Regions from separate parts of the Homo sapiens genome. Here region 2 is linked to region 1. Evidence: promoter capture Hi-C in human tissues and cell types (Jung and others, 2019). All regions are on one chromosome and are shown on one strand. The core of a region is centred on a gene start or on the middle of the fragment in contact, and the rest is flanking DNA. Distances in the headings are between cores, read along the strand shown. Region 1 holds the start of NT5C1A (5'-nucleotidase, cytosolic IA). Region 2 has its middle 3.8 kb from the start of PABPC4.

What was found. The method cuts DNA at HindIII sites, captures the fragments that hold promoters and counts their contacts. A contact is called where the count stands out against the background at its distance.
Region 2: a fragment that was not itself captured here is called in contact with the fragment with the promoter of NT5C1A in region 1 in 4 of the 25 tissues and cell types used here (IMR-90 fibroblasts, lymphoblastoid cells, mesenchymal stem cells and 1 more).

The regions. Positions count from the first base shown.
Region 1 is chr1:39,670,120-39,673,633 of GRCh38, forward strand. NT5C1A (5'-nucleotidase, cytosolic IA) reads right to left here and starts at 1,988. Exons shown (of 6, transcript NM_032526.3): 1 at 1,785-1,988. The coding sequence starts at 1,919. RefSeq lists a silencer at 1,771-2,180. The HindIII fragment of the contact is 3,595 bases long and covers 407-3,514 here.
Region 2 is chr1:39,578,791-39,582,304 of GRCh38, forward strand. No RefSeq gene overlaps it. Among named protein-coding and RNA genes, the nearest start is that of PABPC4, 3.8 kb to the left of the region's middle. The HindIII fragment of the contact is 4,000 bases long and covers 1-3,514 here.

The DNA.
Region 1 (3,514 bases), core at 738-3,237:
TATTTATTATAAAGTCAACCAATGAAAACAACACAGTTGTTTGCATGACAACAAATTTGAAACTAGCGGCTAGAATGCCAGTGCAGACTTAAGCTTCAGCATCCGGCCAAGTTGTTGCTGTGTTTGTATTTGTACAGTATTGAGAAAGTCCTGATTCAGACCAATAAGTGGTTGGAAATGCTAAAAGGTTTTTTGTTTTGGTTTGTTTTAAACTAAAGGCCTTACAATCTCAAGACGCTCTTTGATGGAACAGATCACAGGGGAAGCCTTATTCTGAGCTTTGCTTTAAAAAAATCTGCAGCACAAGCTAGTGGCCTTCAAGCTGCTAAAATGTCCACCTAATACATTAGAGTGAGTTGGGTTTTATTACACATTTTTAATTGTTTAAAACATAGTCCGAAGAAGAAAGAAAATAAATTGGATTCACATGTGTGCAGACTCCCTGAAACATGGGGCTTGGGGAAGCTAGTTTGGAAATCCCTGACCCCCTTGAGTAAGGTCCAGACTCCTTAACATGATCCCCAAGGCCCTCTGTGGGCTCTTCCACATCCCTCCAGCTCTTCTTCCAACAATCCTGCATTCTTCATTCAGTACTTATTCAGGAACACAGTCCTGAGCTTCAGAGACATCTGCATGACTTTTGCCTGTCCTGTTTCCCTCTCCCTGGGAAACTCCACCTACTCAGGCTTTAAGATCAGGATACGTGCCACTTCTACAAAGCTTTCCCCAGTGTGATGTCACTACTCTACTCCCCCCCCAACTCCCCTAGGCTCTCATCTCTGGAGCCTCCATCATTGTGCAGTGAGCTCCTGAGGCAGGGACTCAGGTTATTTAATTCTTCAATCCCCACTCTTGAGCAGAGCTTGGAGGTGCTAATTGAATGATTGCTGATAGGGTGGACCTGTTGGGGAAGGGTTCTTGGAGGGAAGCAGCAAATTGCTTTAAGATCAAGCTGGAGCTCTTTGGAGGACCGCTGTGGGCCAACCTCTATTCTCGGTTTTCTCCTCAAGCTCTGAGATCTGGGAAGTTGGAGACAGCAAGGTCCAGGGGCAGACCAGGGCATCATCAACTTGTTTGATGGCAGAGAGGAGAGAGCTCCTCTGTGAGGTCCCAGACGGTTGACACCACCACAGGGTCGTGGGGATGTTAATGCCCACTGCAAGGGGAGCAGAACCCGAGCTGGGGGGCAGAGTCCAGCGCTGGGAGCCTGCGGCCAGGGGCGCCGATCGCCCCCCAGCGCAGAGTGTGGATCCCAGTGCCTGGAGAGAGCAGCTCCCTTTCCTTAGGACGCGGGGAGCGCACTGCCCCCAGCCCAGGGCCCAGGACCCAGAGCCAGACCCCAAACGCAGAGTCTCAGGTCCGGAGCCCGATGCCCAGATGGCGGAGACCGGAGCGCACAGCCAGGAACCGGGTTCCCAAAGTCTGGTTACCCGCGCCTGGGGCGCTTCTGGAAGCGCTGCGGACCAGCTTCGCCAACAAGTGCAATCCGCGCTCCCCGGCGGCCCGAGTGGGGAGGGGCTGGGGCTGCGGGCCTCTAGCTGGGCCCTGATGACAGCATGGGGGAGGGGGAGCCTGGCGTGGAACCCGAGTCCCGGTAAAAAAATACACCAGAGCAGAGCTCCCAAAATAAACCCGAGCCCGCGCCAGCTGCAGGGCGCATTCTGGGGCTGAGGAGCTGCGTCCCCTCCCAGAGGGGCGCCACGGGTCCCTTCCCAAGAGACTTATGACCCCTCCTCCGGGGTAACCCTTCCCCCGTCCCCCGCATACCCGTGCATTGCTTTTACCGATTTGGGTTTCTTCTTGGGCGCGAGGTTGTCGTAGAAAATCTTGGCTTCCTCCCAGACCGGGGCCGCAGCGGTCTCCGCTCCTGGCCCGGGCTCGCGGGGCTCCTGGGGCTCCCGGGGCTGCCCAGGTTCCATGCTCCGGCTCTGACCCGGCCCGGCCAGAGCAGGCGGCGGCGTAGACGCGGAGGTGGCTGGGGCTGGGCTGCAGGAGGGAGGCGAGTCCCGGCGAGGGAAGGGGGCGGGCAGCGGCGAGGAGGCTGTGCGTGTGAGCTGGGCTCCCCGCCCGCCGGGCGGGGGGAGGTCACACTGGCCCTCTCGGTCGCCCGTGTGTCGCTGCCGCTGCTGCTGCTACTGCTGTACGGTATGAGGGATAGCTGGGCTCTCCTTCCCCGACCGACCCACGCCAGCAGCCGGTTGGGTGGTGAGGGGGGCTCTCTGGCTCTCTGGGTTTGTGGGCTGCAGCGGATTGGGGATTGCGAAAATGATGTTCTTCGCAGGCGCTGCAGGGCGCGGAGACAGGAGAGGCCTGACAACTTTTTTTTTCCCCCAGGATAGTGATCCCCAAAGGACAAAATGAAAAGCTAGCCGCTCCCCTCCCAAAAGCTAGCTGCCCATCTTTCCTTTAGGAGCTAGGACCCTGGGATCCTGACGATGTCCCCTTCCCTCCGAGGCCAGTCCATCCGGCAGACGGGCAGGAGGTGATGCATGGATGGCTCCTCTCACTAGCAGAAGCCTGCTCCCAGCGGGAGCTCAGTGAAGGGCCCAACCCGGCAGCTCCTCCACACCACCTAGGAGGGGCCCTTGAAGTCCATGTTGAGACCAGGCTCGGGTGGTCTCAGGTCGAGACCTTGGCCTGGGGTGGGGACCCAGGCCAGAGAGACTCCCAGGGACTCTGAACCCGAATTCTTGCTGGCCCTTTGGTGGTCAGCAGAGGGCGCGCATTCCTAGGCCCCCACCTGCCCAGCTTGGGGTGATTTGTTATAGGCCATGAAGGGGCTGGATAGAGGGAGGGCAGAAGAGGGGCCTCGGAACTACCATCCTGGAATTCCAGGGTGTTGTCCCTCTTGATGCAGAGCTCTGTACTAGTCTCAGGGTGCAGACACAAATGTCACCCATCCCAAGGTACAGGCCAGGAAGCAGACAGCCTCTCTCAGAGGTGTGCATGGGTGGGTGGGAGAAGCAGGAGAAAACACTGGCTTAGCTAGGAGGGCCTCTGACTGGGGAGGTGAGGGGGCTACAGAATGGAGTGATCCCCTCAGCCTCCACCAGGTCCTGGGAGGAATAAACCAACCCTTGTGTGGGAGGAAGGGAAAAATCATAATAAAATGTTAGGATTGGGGGAAGTGTGTTTAGACTTACTTCTAGAAGATTGTTTCCAGAGATGGCCCAAAAACCTCTTCCATCCTGCCTGTCCTTTGGAAATGTGACTTTGACATTCCTCCCATTCAGAGGTGGAGTCCAGTCTGAGCTGGCCCTGTGACTTGCTTTGACCAATTGAATGGAGTAGAAGTGGTGCTCTGTGGTTTCCAAGCTTACGTCTTAAGAGGCCTTGCAGATTCCATTTTTGCCCTCTTGGGAGCCAGCTACTATGTAAATAAGTCTGGACTATCCTGCTGGAAAGGCCACGTAGTGAGACAGATAGGACCTGGAGGATAAGAAGCTAGCGACAGCCCAGGTGACTATAGGCACAATTGACAGACATGTGAATGAGGCCATCCTGGCTGTCCCAG
Region 2 (3,514 bases), core at 265-2,764, 92 kb before region 1:
ATTCCCTCCTCAGGAAAGTCTTCCTAGACCTCCTGTGGTCTAAAGTAGCCGTCAACATTGTTAATCACTATCACACCAACTTGTCTTCTTGTCTTCAAGCCTGTTATTCCTACCCAAAATTATGTTGTTCTATATCTGTTTACCTGTTTAGTATCTATCTTTTCCACATTGGTATATAAGCTTCATGAGAACAGGAATCTAGAATAGTGCTTAACATAGCACGTACTAAATGTTCAGTAACTGGCCAGGCAGGTGGCTCACACCTATACTCTCAGTGCTTTGGGAGGCTGAGGCAGGAGGATCGCTTGAGCCCAGACATTTGAAACCAGCCTGGGCAACAGAGTGAGACCCTATCTCTACAAAAAAAAATTTTCTTTTAATTGGCTGGGTGTGGGGACACATGCCTGTGGTCTCAGCTACTTGGGAGTCTGAGGTAGGAGGATCGCTTGAGGCCAGGAGTTGAAGGCTGTAGTGAGCTATGATCATGTCGCTGCACTCCAGGCTGAGCAACAGAGTGAGACTCTGTTACTAAAAAATAAATAGATAAATAAATATTCAATATATGTTTGTGTGTGTGTGTGTGTGTGTGTGTGTGTGTGTGTGTGTTTTCTTGTTTTTTTTGTGGGGGGGGTATGAAATCTTCCTCTGTCACCGAGGCTGGAGTGCAGTGGTGCAGTCTCGGCTCACTGCAACCTCTGCCTCCCAGGTTCAAGCAATTCTCATGCCTCAGCCTCCCAAGTAGCTGGGATTGCAGGCATGCGCCACCACACCTGGCTATTTTTTTTTTTGAAACCAACTCTCGCTCTATTGGCAGGCTGGAGTGCAGTACTGCGATCTAGGCTCACTGCAACTTCCGCCTCCCGGATTCAAGCAATTCTCCTGCCTCAGCCTCCCGAGTAGCTGGGACTACAGGTGCGTGCCACCACACCTGGCTAATTTTTGTATTTTTAGTAGAGATGGGGTTTCACCATGTTGGCCAGGATGGTCTCAATCTCTTGACCTTGTAATCTGCCCGCCTCGGCCTCCCAAAGTGCTGGGATTACAGGGGTGAGCCACCACGCCCAGCCTTTTTTTTTTTTTTTTTTTTTTTGAGACAGAGACTTGCTCTGTCACCCAGGCTGGAGTGCAGTGGCGTGATGTCGGCTCACTGCAACCGCCACCTCCCGGATTCAAGTGATTCTCCTGCCTCAGCCTCCCAAGTAGCTGGAATTACAGGCACCCACCACTATGCCCAGCTACTTTTTGTATTTTCAGTAGAGATGGGATTTCACCATGTTGCCCAGGCTGGTCTCCGACTGCTGACCTCAGGTGATGTATTCGTCTCGGCTTCCCCAAGTGCTGGGATTACAGGCGTGAGCCACACACCCAGCCTGTGTATTTTTTTTTTTGTTTTTTTGTTTTTTTTGAGACTGGGTCTCGCTCTGTTGCCCAGGCTGGAGTGCAGTGGCGCGATCTTGGCTCACTGCAAGCTCTGCCTCCCGGGTTCACGCCATTCTCCTGCCTCAGCCTCCCGAGTAGCTGGGACCACAGGTGCCCACTACCACGCCCGGCTAATTTTTTGTATTTTTTAGTAAAGATGGGGTTTCACTGTGCTAGCCAGGATGGTCTTGATCTCCTGACCTCGTGATCCGCCCACCTTGGCCTCCCAAAGTGCTGGGATTACAGGCATGAGCCACTGCATGTATTTTTTTTTAAGCAACAAAGTCTCACTGTGTTGCCCAGGCTGGAGTGCAGTGGCCTGATCATAGCTCACTGCAGCCTCAAACTCCTGACCTCAAGCGATCCACTTTGGCTTCTTAAAGTGTTGGGATTACAGGCATAAACCACTGCACCTGGCCTAAATATTTGTTAAATAAACAAATGAATACTAGGCACAGATGAGCAAAACCCACACAAGCTCTGACCTCCTGAAGCTTATTGTCTATTGGGGGAGCTTATTACCTATATTACTTTGGGCAAGCTAGTTCACATCTCTGACCCTCAAATTTCTCATCTGAACTATACTAATAAACCTTATTAACAATTAAAAGGGTTATTGTGAGAATAAATGAATACATATAAATACACATAAATTGTTTGGATTAATTTTTTTTTTGAGATGTCTCACTTTGTCGCCCAGGCTGGAATGCAGTGGTGCGATCTCAGCTCACTGCAACCTCTGCCTCTCAGGTTCAAGCGATTCTCCTGCCTCAGCCTCCCTAGTAGCTGGGACTACAGGCATACATCGCCACACTGGGCTAATTTTTTGTATTTTAGTAGAGACAGGTTTTCACAATGTTGCCCAGCCTGGTTGCGAACTCCTGAGCTCAGGCAATCCGCCCCCACCTCAGTCTCCCAAAGTGTTGGGATTACAGGTGTAAGCCACCATGTGCCCAGCCTTGGATGAATGTTAATAGCTATTACTATCAAGCTACATTTGTACTAAGAAAGGAGGCGGAGGCCGGGCGCGGTGGCTCACGCCTGTAATCCCAGCACTTTGGGAGGCTGAGGCAGGCAGATCACCTGAGGTCAGGAGTTCGATACCAGACTGACGGACATGGAGAAACCCCATCTCTACTAAAAAAACAAAATTAGCCAGGCGTGGTGGTGCATGCCTGTAATCCTAGCTACTCCAGAGGCTGAGGCTGGAGAATCACTTGAACCGGGGAGGTGGAGGTTGCGGTGAGCCGAGATTGCGCCATTGCACTCCAGCCTGGGCAACAGGAGTGAAACTCTGTCTCAAAAAAAAAAAAAAAAAGTAAAATAAAAAGAAAGGAGGGGAGTCCCTAAATGAAGTCAGGGAGAACAGCATCTATAAAGGCCCTAAGTGCCAGGCGTGGTGGCTGCCGCCTGTAATTGCCTGTAATTCCAGCACTTTGGGAGGCCAAGGAGAGCAGATCACCTGAGGTCAGGAGTTTGAGACCAGCCTGACCAACATGGTAAAACCCCGTCTCTACTAAAAATAGAAAATTAGCCGGATGTGGTGGCAGGTGCCTATAATCCCAGCTACTTGGGAGGCTGAGGGAGGAGAATCATGTGAATCCGGGAGGCAGAGGTTGCAGTGAGCCAAGGTTGTGCCACTGCACTCCAGCCTGGGCGACTGAGAGAGACTCTGTCTGAAAAAAAAAAAAAAGCCCTAAGGGAGACAAACTGTGGAGTTGTGGGAAATGAAAGAGATGGCCTTAAAACACTTAGGATTTTATCCTCAGATCAAAGAGTAAAGCTGCAGGATTTTAAGAGCAAAGTGCCTTCGCTCAAATTACTTTTTTCTTTCTTTTTTTTTTTTTTGTTTTGAGAGGGAGTCTCACTCTGTCGCCCGGGCTGGAATGCAGTAGTGGGATCTCCACTCACTGCAAACTCCGCCTCCCGGGTTCACGCCATTCTGCTGCCTCAGCCTCCCGAGTAGCTGGGACAACAGGTGCCTGCCACCACGCCCGGCTAATTTTCTGTATTTTTTAGTAGAAATGGGGTTTCACTGTGTTAACCAGGATGGTCTTGATCTCCTGACCTCGTGATCCGCCCGCCTGGGCCTCCC